Linked DNA regions of Homo sapiens: region 1 is linked to region 2. The links are contacts of gene promoters, found by promoter capture Hi-C in blood cells and fetal thymus (Javierre and others, 2016). All regions are on one chromosome and are shown on one strand. The core of a region is centred on a gene start or on the middle of the fragment in contact, and the rest is flanking DNA. Distances in the headings are between cores, read along the strand shown.

Region 1 (6,745 bases), core at 956-3,455, 440 kb after region 2:
CCTCGAAAAAGTCATGTTATAATTTGTATTATGCTTGCATTGATTTTATACATCACTTTAGGAGAATCGATCTCTTTGCAATCTTGATATCCCAATTTACAAACATGATAAATGTCTCCATTTATTTAAGACTTGTATGTCTCAACTTTATGTGAATTTTTCTGGTCTTTTGTCACATGGGCCTTTTCAGGCTTATGTCTAGGTATTTTAAGGCTCTCCCCTCTTAGAATGTTGATTTTCCTTCATAGTCAGCCGTTGGTCTGCTTCTGGCCCACTAAGTCTCCTTGGATGCTCCAACTGTTACCATTATCATCTATATGTCGTTACCTCATCAACACCTGGGTTTCAGCTTAGACCCCATTGGCCTGACCTCCACATATAAACGTTCACCTGCAAACCAGAGTTTTCCATATAGATTTTCTACTGACACCTCAACCTCAACCACATCATGACTGCCCTTTTCCCACTCCCTGACACCTTCTGTTCCCTGTCTCCCACCCTCCTTGATGGAATCCCTTCCTTAGTGAATGATATCACCAATCACCCATGCAAAACCTTAGAGTCCTCATCACCTTTTCCTTCTCCTTCACCCTCTGCATGAAGTCACTTAAATCAGTCTTGTGGATTCAGCCATCTCAAACTATTGCCATATCCTCTATCAGTCTCACCCCTGCCAACCAATTCTTACTACCATTTTATCATCAACAACAACTTTAAATAGCTTTCTACATTATCTAGAGTAGATCAAGATGCTATAACTAATAGGCTACATAATGTACCATGTTGCTAATACAACAGATGTTTGTTTCTTGCTCCCACAACAGTTCAAGATATGTGTTCTGGATGGCAGATAGCTCCTACAATCTTGTCATTCCACCATCCCCTAGGGTCTTGGCATTTTCTGCACTTAGCTGGGAAAAAAAGGAAGAGTAATTAAGGGTGTATCATACCCACTGTTTAAAATCCTTGGTGCAGAAATGTATCTTCTGTGCACAACCTATTGAAAACCAGTCACATGACACACCTAATTGCAAAGGACACTGGGAAAGGGAATTTAGCCATACACTGGGCTACAATGTAAATATTTCTGTTGAAGGAGATAATGAATTTTCGGTGACAAAATATGGTTCCTTGACCTTGACATTGTCTTGCATAACCTCCATGACATTTTTTTTTTAAGAGATGGAATCTGACGCAATCACCCTGGCTGGAGTGCAGTGGCATAATCATAGCTCCATGCAACCCAGAGCTTCTGGGCTCAAGATGTTTCCGGAATTGGTAGGTTCTTGGTCTCGCTGACTTCAAGAATGAAGCCGCGGACCCTCGCAGTGAGTGTTACAGTTCTTAAAGATGCTGTGTCCAGAGTTTGTTCCTTCAGATGTTCAGACGTGTCTGGAGTTTCTTCTTTCTGGTGGGTTCGTGGTCTCACTGGCTTCAGGAGTGAAGCTGCAGACCTTCGCAGTGAGTGTTACAGCTCATAAACGCAGTGCGGACCCAAAGAGTGAGCAGAAGCAAGATTTATTGCAAAGAGGGAAAGAACAAAGCTTCCACAGCATGCAAGAAGATGGTGGGCGGGGGGCCAAGGCCAGGGCAGGGGCAGCGGCAGGCTCAGGCATGGAGGGCTGCAGGTCCCGAGCCCTGTCCCGCAAGGAAGAGGCTGAGGCCCGGCAAGAATTCGAGCATGGCGCAGGCGGGCTGACAGTGCTGGGGGAACTGGCGCACCCTCCGAAGCTGCTTGCCTGGGTGCTAAGCCCCTCACTGCCCTGGGCCAGCGGCGCCGACCGGCCGCTCCGACTGCGGGCCACTGAGCCTGCACCCAGCCGGAACCCGGGCTCGCCACAAGCTTCACGTACAGCCCTGGTTCCCGCCCGGGCCTCTCCCTCCATACCTCCGGGCAAGCAGAGGGAGCCAAATTCGGCCTCGGCCAGCCCAGAGAGGGGCTCCCACAGTGCAGCGGCGGGCTGAAGTGCTCTTCAAGCGCAGCCAGAGTGGACACCGAGGCCGAGGAGGCGCTGAGAGTGAGCGAGGGCTGCTAGCATGTTGTCACCTCTCAAAGAGATCTTCCTGCCTCAGCCTCTTGAGTAGCTAAGACTACAGGCATGTGCCACCATGCCCAGCTAACTGTTTTAATTTTATTTTTAGAGACGGGACTTTGCTTATGTTGCCCAGGCTGGTCCTGAATTCCTGGGCTCAAGTGATCTTCCCACCTCAGTCTCCCATTCATGAGGGATTCATTCCCCGCCCTCCATGACCTAAACACCACCCACTAGGCTCCACTTCCCAAGGTCACCATATTGGAGATCAAATGTCAGCATGAGGTTTGATGGGGATAAACAAATCTCATCCAAACAGCAAAGAAGGAATGAGGCACAGAAGCCCTGAGAGAATAAAGAGGTTCCCAGCAGAGAAAACATGGAGCAAGACCAAAGTGTGGCACTTTTGAAAATGATTTGTCTAATTGGAGTAAGAGATACAGTTGGCAGAGTAGCGAGGAAGGCAGAGGCCAGACCAAGTACAATGTCATGTGCTAGTCTCAAGAATTTTGCTTTAATCCTGAAGGAAGCTTTGAAGTGTATTTAGCAGAGACGTGATGGAATCCAGAAGTTTAGAGGGAAACACTAGAATGCAGTACGGGAGGAGCATCTCCCAACCCTGGAAGACTGGAGTCCAACCAGCATGTGCCAGGTTGTCTCTTCTCTCTGCTACAGTTCTTTATTCATTGCTACAGTTCCTTATTCACATGTAACTGTAGGCTCCCTTCATCAGTTTAGGAAAACAAATGAGGTCACATATCTTTCTAACTAGCTTCTTGAGCCACCACACAGTCAAATTAACTGGAACCCCAGGGTCTCCTTCTTAGGACCTTTTTCCAATTGTAAAAGAATCTTGGTGTTTGCTCTGCTTAATGGGGCGAATCCAAACAGTGTTCAGGAAAAAAAATATATAAAGAATGTCCCGAGCCTATGATAAGACCTTGGCTTTTATGTGCCATTTCTCCTATAGCTATTGGTCTGATCCATGCCTTCTCCAATATCATTCCAGGACCCCAAGGAAAACAGAGCTACATAGGAAGGAACTCCAATAAAGTGGCAACAGTGATCAGATTTGGGATTTCAAAAGGTTGCTCTGATGTCAGAGTACACAGGGTTGGACCAAAAGGGAACACAGCTAGAGGCAAGGAGATCAATGAAGTTGCCCATGCAGTGTTTTAGATGGAAAGTAATAGAAGCCTGAAGAAGGGAAGTGGGGATGGAGAAGAGGGCAGAAGCATGATATAGGTCAAAAGCATAAAATTGACAGCATCTATTGACTGTTTGGATGTAAGGAGTAAAAGGAAAATAAAGTTGATAGTTTATATAGACCTTCCTTGGGAACGGGGTAGATGCCAGTGAGATTCCACAAGATTAGGGATGCAAGAGTCAAGATAGGCTTGGGAAATGGTGAAGGCAGTTGATGATCTCAGGTTTAAGCGTGTGAAGTGGGGTGCATGGGGAAAAACTATAGGAATGTGTCTCAAGGTAGTCAGGTATATAAGCATGGAACTCATGAGAAACGTCTGGAGATAGGGATTTCAACTCACTGGTTTGTAGGTAATAGTTGAATTGGTGTGGACAAGAGCTGCAGGAAGAATTGTTGAATGGGATGAGGGCAGAACACTGGGGAACCCAAACTCTAAGGATTGAGCAAAGATGTCTGAGAAGGAGCACTACAGAGGTTGGAAAAGGAAGACTTCAAAAAGACAGCAATCAGCATCCTGCACTGCAAGAAGGCAGGTCAACTAACAAGGACCTGAAGTGCTTCATTAATGATCTTGGTGAGAGTGAGGAGTGGGCACAGAAGCTTGACCAAAGTAAAAGAGGAGAAACAATAAGGCCAGGGTTATTTTTCAGAAAACCAGGTGATGAGGGACAGCATGGAATAAAATGACAACTGGAGAGGGAGGTAGGGTCAAGAAATGGTGTGTGGTGTGGTGTGTGTGTGTGTGTGTGTATGTGTGTGTGTGTGTGTGTGTGTATGTGTGTGTGTGAATTTCTCTGCCACTTTTTTAATCCCACAGAGAGTGGCGTTCGTTTGATGTCTACAAGTCTTAGAAGGGCCACTGACTCCCCAGATGCCCCTCCTTCTCCCTTTACCTTAGGGTTATAACTGGGCATTCACTCGTCTTAGAATCCCCCTCTTTTTTCATAGGGTTTTGGGGACATCACATAGGATTCTAGGCCTTGGTGGGTTTGACACATCATAGCAGTCAGCTTATTCAGTCTCTTTTTCTTATTTAACTAAAGCTCTGCCCATGTCTTCTATAGTTATGGGAAACTACTCTCATCAGCCAGCCGTGGCGTAGCACCACACCCAGGGCTGTCCATGCTTGTGTGGTCCATATAAATAATCATTTCAACTGGGAAATTTTGAGAATAAAAGGAGTGTTGTTAGCAATGACTGACAGACAACAGGTGCAAATGGAAATTGTCCCCGTCAAATGGAGACATAGTCATAGACAGTCAGATGATCCCTACTCATTCTTCATATTTGCATTGTCACAGCTCAAAACACATGAAGGGATTTTATATACATTGTATTATTTGAGGCTTTTTAAGTAGCACACATTATTTTATTTTATTATGAGATGGAATCTCCCTCTGTTACCCAAGCTGGAGTGCAATGGCACGATCTCAGCTCACTGCAACCTCTGCCTCCTTGGTTCAAGCAATTCTCCTGCTTCAGCCTCCTGAGTAGCTGGGACTGCAGGTGCATGCCACCACACCCAATTAGCTTTGTATTTTTAGTAGAGACAGGGTTTCACCATGTTTGCCAGCCTGGTCTTGAACTCCTGACTTCAAGTGATCCTCCTACTTGGTCTCCCAAAGTGCTGGGATTACAGACGTGAGCCATCGTGCAGGCCCACGCATTACTTTAGAAATAAATAGGTAAAGGAAATCATGTTTGCAGAATCTGAGCTGGCACGGACTGCCTGGTGCAAACCCCTCATTTTATAAATGAAGATCCCAAGGCCCAGCTCTCTGGAAGCTCCAGTAAGACCTGAATAACTATCAGATTTGAGGTCCCTCCTACTTTAGATCCATTCCCCCAGCCTCCACCAATTGGGAGGGGAGCCAGAGGGGAGGGTGTCCATGGATTTGCCTTGGGAGGAAGAGCTATGAGGAAGTCTTCATGAATTTGTCCCTGAATGGCAGCCAAAGCAGGAAGCCTCCTAAGTTTGGAATGGGGGTCAGTGGAGCTCAGGATCTATATCCCGCAGAGCATATGGAGGCCCAAATCACTGTCTCCTCCTCTGGCTCAGAGTTTCCCTATTTCAGTCTGCACCTGCATCTTACATCCCACAACGAAGTGGAGCCTCTGTAGCAGTGGCAGACTACAGGTCTGTATTTACATGGGTCCGTATTTCATCTGCATCGTGACACCAGCCTCCACCACTTTCTGTGCCACCCAGTTCTGGGAGGGAAGAGATTTCATGGTTTTGATGGACTCTCTTAGAGCTATTTACATGCATGAAACAATTAGGAAAACAAAAATAAGGGAGCGTGATGATTAAGTTTTGATGTTAATTTGACTGGAATAAGGAATACCTAGAAATCTGGTAAAGCGTTTTTTTTCTGAGTGTGTCTGTGAAGGTGTTTCCAAAGGAGATCGGCATGTGAGTCTGAGAGGACTAAGTGGGGAAGATCCACCCTCAATGTGGGCAGGCACCATCTAGTCTACTGGGGACCTGCAGAAAACAAAAACAGAAAGGGCAAATAGGTTAATCTCTCTACTAGAGTTGGGATATATTGTCCCTCTCCTGTCCTTGGACAACTTCAGGCTCTCTGATCTTTGGACTCCACGAGTTACACCAATGACCCCTGGGTTCTCAGGCCTTTGGCCTTGGAATGAGAGTTACACCATCATCCTCTGGCTCTGATGGCATCACTCCTGGCTCTGATGCCTTTGGACTTGTACTGAGCTGTACTACCAGAATTCCCAGGTCTCCAGCTTGCAGACAACCTGTCCTGGGACTTCTCAGCCTCAATAATCATTTGAGCCAATTCCCCTAATAAATCCTCTCCCATCTACCTATCTATATCTACATCCATATCTAATCTATGTCTATATCCATCTCCTATTTGTTCTGTCTCTCTAGAGAATCCTGACTAATACAGAGAGTAACAAAGCATTTTTCTCATGTTTTATCTTTCATCTCAGAATCTAATTAATCACTTCCTTAATTACTTGAATGAGCCACTGGAGGTTTGGGGTCATGATTCCTGCTCTATTTATATCACCTTGTTTTTGATGAGATGACCCTACCTCTGAATACTGAGTCTAAACATACCAATAAAAAGATGAGAGACGGCCGGGCACGGTGGCTCACACCTGTAATCCCAACACTTTGGGAGGCCAGGGCGGGTGGATCACTTGAGGTCAGGAGTTCAAAATTGGCTTGGCCAACATCTAATTTAATAGAGATGACATCTAATTTAGTAGAGACGAGTGAAACCTCGTCTCTACTAAAAATACAAAAATTAGCCAGGCATGGTGGCAGGCGCCTATAATCCCAGCTACTTGGGAGGCTAAGGCAGGAGAACCACTTGAACCCAGGATGCAGAGGTTGCAGTGAGCCGAGATTTTTGCACCACTGCACTCGAGCCTGGGTGACAGAGCTTCATCTCAAAAAAAAAAAAAAAAAAAAAAAAAAAAAAAGATGAGAGACCTGTTCCAGGCCCTGTAGTTTTCACATTCTCTCTGAATT
Region 2 (7,234 bases), core at 3,111-5,610:
AATACAAAAATTAGCCGGGCATGGTGGTGGGTGCCTGTAGTCCCAGCTACTCAGGAGGAAGCTGAGGTAGGAGAATCGCTTGAACCTGTGAGGCAGAGGTTGCAGTGAGCTGAGATTGTGCCACTGCACTCTAGCCTGGGCGACAGAGCAAAACTCCTTCTAAAAAAAAATACTATTATTTGGGGAAGCTGGGCAAATTTTAAGCCAGGCACGGTGGCTCACGACTGTAATTCCAGCACTTTGGGAGGCCGAGGTGGGCAGATCATGAGATCAGGAGTTCGAGACCAGCCTGGCCAACATGGTGAAACCCCATCTTTACTAAAAATACAAAAAATTAGCCAGGCATGGTGGTGCTAGTCCCAGCTACTCAGAAGGCTGAAGCAGGAGAATCGCTTGAACCCGGGAGGTGGAAGTTGCAGTGAGCCGAGATTGCACCATTGCACTCCAGCCTGGGTGACAGAATAAGACTCTGTCAAAAAAAAAAAAAAAAAAAAAAAAAGAATCCTTTACAAAATTCTCTTGTCTAGAGCGAAACTTGCGAATCCAAATGACTGAGTTGAGAATACTGAGCAAAGGTAATTTCTGTACTGTTCACAATTACCTCATTTATCTTAACAACCCAAACAAAATCTAAAAATGAAGAGGATACAAATGAATATTGGGTCATTCAAATGGTTTCTTCTGCTACAAGGGCAAATGACTTACATCCAGAAACTTTCACTGGCAACTCCTTCAGTTAGGACACAGATAAATCACTTTGAAAGATGACTGAAAGGTGACATAATAGCTTGGAGCTTCCATAACTCACTCTGGAGATCATGAGAATTTTTTTTTTTTGTCTTTGTTTTGTTTTTTTTGTAACCATCATCTCTCCCCATTTATAGAGTACAATTACCAACCAACAAATAAAGCAACTAGGTGATACCTACAGGTAATAGATAAGCCTCTTTATTATTATCAATTGAGTAGAAATGGCAAACAGCAAAAGTTCTGCCTTAAAACCTCTTCTGGGCCGGGCGTGGTGGCTCACGCCTATAATCCCAGCACTTTGGGAGGCCAAGGTGGGTGGATAACCTGAGGTCAGGAGTTCAAGACCAGCCTGGCCAACATAGTGAAACCTCATCTCTACTAAAAATACAAAAATTAGCAGGATGTGGTGGCGCACGCCTGTAATCCCAGCTACGCAGGAGGCTGAGGCAGGAGAATCACTTGAACTCAGGAGGTGGAGGTTGCAGTGAGCCAAGATCATGCCACTGCACTCTACACTCCAGCCTGGGTGACAGAGTGAGACTCCCTCTCAAAAAACAAAGAAAAAAAAAACAAAAAGACAACCTCTTTTGCTGCATTAATACATTAATAAAACATTACCTTCTCTAAATTTAAACATTACACCTAATTAATTCACCAAAATGTCAGTTGTCACCTAAAGCGTTATAGTAACAAGGAAATACCTTGGAATAAAGAAGAATCCTCACAGGAATAGAGAGAGTGGAATGAGCTGATTTTATTCATATTTCAATGATCACTGTAGCCTTCCCTGCTACTATTTACTCTTCCAGTGAAGCCTCAGAGAGAGGCATTTAAGAATTACCTCCAGTGATGCAAGGGACTCCATTTCCACATGGCCCTTCTCTTGTCTTAATTACAAAACATGTTGTACCAAACAGTCATCACTGCTGTAAGCTCTCTGGCAAGCCCCCAAATCACAAACCTTGGTGATAACTTCCACAAAGCACATACAGCCAGTCACAAATAGATTTATAAAGATAAAACCTTTTTATGACTTCAAGCACCAAAGAGATGACTTTATGAAGGCTGTCATTTATACCACTGTCTTTTGTTATTAAGGAAGCAGAAAATGGAAATAAGAATAGAAAATTGCTATTTTCTAATAGAAATTTAGAAAGCAGAAGTAAAACTTGAGCGTTCTATCCATGCCCATAAGAAATATGGTTTCCAATGGGGTTTAATTTTTGTTATCCCATGCCCAGGGTTTTTCAACCAAAAAGAGAATTTGGCCCCTTGTCTTCCTTTTGTAATAAGCTACAATTTTAGCAGCAGAGGCAAGAGATTGGAAGAGATACAGACAATTTTTTTAAAGGCTTATACCCAATGAAACACAGTCTTTTAAAAGCAAGTTGCATGAAAACAAAACATTCAAATCCTGTTTCTTCCTGCAAATAATTTTAAACTAACCAGCTAACTGCTAGCATACCACTGACCTTTGCCTTGGACTCGCAGGTTTTAGGAATAATCTAAAGATAGACATTTTTTTTTAGTGATGAATATGATTAAATTACAAACGCCCGTTTTCCCCTTAAAGACCAATAAATAATGTTTCAATTTTAAGCAATAAAAGGTCGAAAAAAACTCAAAATCAACAAGCTATTAATCTAGTCTTTATTACAAATGAAAGACGTCAAGGCCCATTTCTCATACGGACTGAGGTGGCAAATGGCAATCTCTTATGTCAAACTACAGTGATGAGACCACCTAATTATGGTTATATTTATAGATATCTGGATTTCATCATAATCAACCTCTCTCTTGCAAAGTGAGAAAAAGAAATGTCCACCAAATTAGTCCTGGTGACATAAGATAATGTCTGTCTAATTGATCACAGCATCCTCAAAGCCATTAGCTAGGACCCACGGAAAGAAAAACATTTCAGCTTCTCCACCTGACACCAAACATTCAACTTGCAGGGACCAACACCACTATCTAGAATGATCCCTATAGAACCTCCTTACTGAAGACCGATAAAATCCAGGGGAGAAGGGCGTGAACGGCATCCAAAATGAAGACCCCAAGAATTGTCCTCTATCATCAGGGCTAGGAGATGCAAGGAAGAGTTAAAATCCTGGCTATGTAAGTCAGCATCTCCATCTGAGCCTGGTGAGACCTGACCGAGGGCCCTGTGAGACTTTCAGATCCGCGGGGAAGCCACACTGTCCGGGATACTTTGAGTTTCTGATCTGTTTCCCACGGTCTGCCACATAGGAGTGTCCTCCGTATTTGGCAGTGGAGAGATAAGGATACAGAGAGATCCTGTGTGTGGGAGAGGAAGGGGTGTAAGAGAACGCATCAGAACGCCTCAGAGGTCCAGGAGAACTCCGTCTCCGGGCCTCTTCCTCGAAGTTGCAAACCTGGGTCTGTATCAGCAGGCAGGGCGGGAGGGGGTGGCTGGACGCCTCACTGCGTGCGCTCCCCGAGGCTGCTGTGACAATGGTAAGAAGATGGACCAGTGAACGGGAAACATGACGTGAGGGGGTCTTACTTTTGCAGCTCGCTGCCCAGGGCTGGTAGCCATAGTAGCCAGTGATGCGCAGGATCCGCTCCTCGATGGACGTGAGCCCCACCGGCCCGCTGGTGAGATCCTCCACGGAGCGCGACCATTTCAGATCCTCCTTAATCGCCTCGTCCACCACCAAGTACTTGAGCTGCCGGAGCTGGGGGCTGATGTCGGACAGTCTCCGGGGGCTGACGTCCGGTGACCTCCTCATGCCACTGCGGTCGCAGGCGCCACGGGCAGGTGGGTGGGCAGGGGGAGCATGGACAGAGAGGAGGGGATTCGTGAGGAGCAGATCCCAGGGCGAGAGCAAGAGCGCGGCCGGGGCCCTCCGGGGGCGAGCGCCGCGGCAGAGCCCGCGCTCCTCCCTTCCCGCCGCCACTCACCCACTTCCCCGGGCAGCTGTCCCCAGTGCCCTATCCTGGGCGTCTCGGGGCAGTGCGGGTTGGGGCGAGTGGCGAGGGAAAGAATGACTGAAACTTCCCGAGCAGCTCCACCGCGCGCGCCGCCCTTCCCCGAGCCTCAGACTGCCCAGTGTCCCAGCTGCAAAGGGCTACCCCGGCGCTCCGGCCTCCCGCCCGCCGGCTCGCTCACCCACGCCCGGGGCGCTACTCACACGGCAATGCTCTTGCCCCTGGGTGCGCCGCTGGGAAACTCTCGAATCCCCATAGGCAAAGACAGAGTGGGACCGGCAGCTCCCAGACTTGAGGCGGAGGGGCCGCGGGCCGGAGCTCCCTGCAGCCGCTAGCCTGGGAAGACTGGAGTGCGCTGCCCACCGAGGGTCTGCGCCGCGCCGGCCGCCCCGGGCCGCTTTGTGCGCGCCCGCGCGGTCTGTACCCGAGCGCCTCCGCGGCGTGCGGCACGATGCAGGCGCGGCGGTTCAGCCCGGTGACTCCAGGCCGGCCCGCGCGCTCGCCGCAACGACCCGGCAGCCGAGGCAGCGCCGCGCCCCACGCCCGTCACCGTCGCCGCCGCCCTAGCACACCGCAGGCGTGAGTCTCGCCGCGACCGGGAGAGCCCTCCCAGCTGTGCGCTCTCGAGGCACCTGGTCGGGCGGGGAGGCGTCGGGTCGGGGCGCACAGGGGCCAGGCGGGGGCGCTGCTGCCCACTTCCCGCCTCCCGGGCGTGCGCTCCGCCCCGGAGCCCGCACCTCGCGCCCGCGCTCCGCCTGGAAGCCTTGGGGCACCGGACGCGCTCCTCCACCCTTCTCTTTTGACTCAAACCCTGCCGCTCCCAGTTCAGTACTTTTCTCTCTCTCTCTCACACTCTCTCTCTCTCTCTCTCTCTCTCTCTCTCTCTCTCTCTCTATGTATATGTCTGTCTCTCTCTTTCTCTAAATTAGCAAAACTACTTGGAAAGAAAGAAACCTGGTTCCATGCTCAGCATGCCAAGTGAATAAATGGCGTTTCATAGGCAACGCTGAGACACAAAATGTATTATCTATTACGCTGTGGGGATCTCTCAGTCAGACCTGGTCCTCAGAGAGCTTACTTTCCCACTGATGATGCAATTACGAAATCAGTTCTCTCTTCATAGATTTCCATTTTAAAAGCTTCTCATCTTTTTCCTTACCACCCCACTGCCCCCGACGGCCGAAAGGCATTCTCTTCAGACTACCTAATCACCTTTCCTAATATTATTTTTCATCGGGGCAAATTTAGAAAAGATAGAAGTATGTGGAGAAGAAAATATCCATTATCCAGCCAAAAATGACGACTTTCAATTATGAACGTATTCTCTTCCAGGCTTTTTTCCAACGCAAAATACAGTTGTCACAAAAATCGGAATGAAATTGTACACACTACTTTATGTACTGCTTTTTTTATATTAAAATCATATTGTATAGCAGCAAACTATGAATAGAGGGGAACTTTCTCAACTTGAAAAAGAACATTTACAAAAGCGTACAGCTAACACCATGCTTAATGGTGAGAAACTAGAAGCTTTCCTGTTAAAATAAGGAACAGGGCAAGTATGTCTCTACTCAGCAATCCTTTTCAGCATCATACTGAAAGTCCCAGCTAATGAAATTAGACAAGAAAAGGAAATTAAAAGTATACGTATTGTGAAGGAAAAGGTAAAAGAAAACTGTCTTTGCAGCTGACATGACTGTTGATGTAGAAAAATTTCAATTGACAAAAAAACTCTCCTGTTACTAATAAGCAATTATGGTAAGATTGAAGGATACAAAATTAATGTACAAAAGTCAACTGCTTTTCTATATACTAGCAACGAACAATGGGAATTTGAAATTAAAACCACAATACTATTTATATTAGCACACCACTCAAATGAAATATTTAGGTACAAATCTAATAAATATGTACAATATCTATATGAGAAAAACTACAAAACTGTGATGAAAGAAATCAAAGAACTAAATAAATAGAGAGATATTTTATGTTCATGGATGGAAAAATTTAATATTGTTAAGATGTCAGTTCTTCCCAACTTCATCTATAGATTCAAAGTAATTCCAATCAGAATCCCAGGAGGTTATTTTGTGAATATCACAAACTGATTCTCAAGTTTATATGAAAAGGCAAAAGACCCATAATAGCCAACACAATATTAAAGGAGAAGAACAAAGTCTGAGGACTGATATTGCCCAACTTCAAGACTTACTATAGTTACAGTAATCAAGACAGTGTGGTATTGGTGAAAGAGCAGACAAATAGATTAATGGAACAGAATAGAGAGGCCAAGATAGACCCACACATAGAGTCAAGTGATCTTTGACAAAGGAGCAAAAGAAATCTAATGGAGAAAAGATCACCTTTTCAACAAATGGTGCTAGAACAACTAGACATCCAATCACAAAAAAAAAAAAGAAAGAAAGAGAGAAAAAAAGAAAAGAAGCTGGATACATAGATACAGACCTTACACCTTTCACAAAAATTAACTCAAAATAGATCATAGACCTAAATATAAAATGCAAAACTATAAAACTCTTAGAAGATAAAAAGGAGAAAACCTAGGTGACCTTGGGTTTGTAAATGACATTTTAGATACAACATCAAAGGCATGATCCATGAAAGTAAAAATTGGTATTGGACTTCGTTAAGATTAATAACTTCTGCTCTACAAAAGACACTGTTAAAACAATGGGAAGAAAAGCTACAGACCAATAGAAAATATGTCAAATCATATACATGATTAAGAACTGTAATAAAAAATAAGAATAATTAGAACTCAACAATAAGAAAATGATCCCAATTAAAAAATTGGCAAAACAGCTGAACAAACATATCAATAGAGATGATATACAGATGGTAAATCAGCACATGAAAAGATGCTCCACATCATACATCATTAGGGAATTCCAAATTAAGACAAAAAAGATGTATTGCTATACACCTACTAGAATGAATAAAATCCCAAACGCTGACAACATCAAATGCTGGCAGGATGTGGAACAGCAAGAAGTCTCTCATTCATTGCTGGTGGGAATGCAAAATGGTACAGCACTTTGGTAGACAGTTTGAGTTCCTTACAAAATTAATCATACTGTTACCATGCAACCCATCAGTCATGCTCCTTGATATTTACCTGGATGAGTTCAAAACTTAAGTCCCCACAAAAATCTGCACACAAATGTTTATAGGAACTTTTTTCATGATTGCCAAGATGTCCTTCAGTAGCTGAATGAATAAACATACTGTGGTACATCCATACAAAAGAATATTCCGTTCAGTGATAAAATGAGCTATCAAGCTGCAAAAAGACATGAAGGAAATTGAAAACATATTGCTAAGTGAAAGAAACCGGTCTGAGAGAGGCAAAACTATGGAGATAGTTTAAAGATCACTGGTTCCCAATGGTTGGGGAGAGGATGGGATGAACAGGCAGAACACAGAGGATTTTTAGGGCAGTGGGTTGATTTTGTATAGTACTGTAATGGTAGATATATATCATTATACATATGTCAAAACTCAGTGGATGCAC

What was found. The method cuts DNA at HindIII sites, captures the fragments that hold promoters and counts their contacts. A CHiCAGO score of 5 or more calls a contact.
Region 1: a fragment that was not itself captured here is called in contact with the fragment with the promoter of SLC35F3 in region 2 in 1 of 17 cell types (M0 macrophages); the score reaches 5.1 in M0 macrophages.

What each region holds. Positions count from the first base shown.
Region 1 is chr1:233,461,167-233,467,911 of GRCh38, reverse strand. No RefSeq gene overlaps it. Among named protein-coding and RNA genes, the nearest start is that of MAP3K21, 140 kb to the right of the region's middle. The HindIII fragment of the contact is 720 bases long and covers 1,846-2,565 here.
Region 2 is chr1:233,901,802-233,909,035 of GRCh38, reverse strand. It overlaps SLC35F3 (solute carrier family 35 member F3), which reads right to left and starts at 4,360. Exons shown (of 8, transcript NM_173508.4): 1 at 3,906-4,360; 2 at 3,278-3,507. The coding sequence starts at 3,958. The HindIII fragment of the contact is 5,426 bases long and covers 1-4,843 here.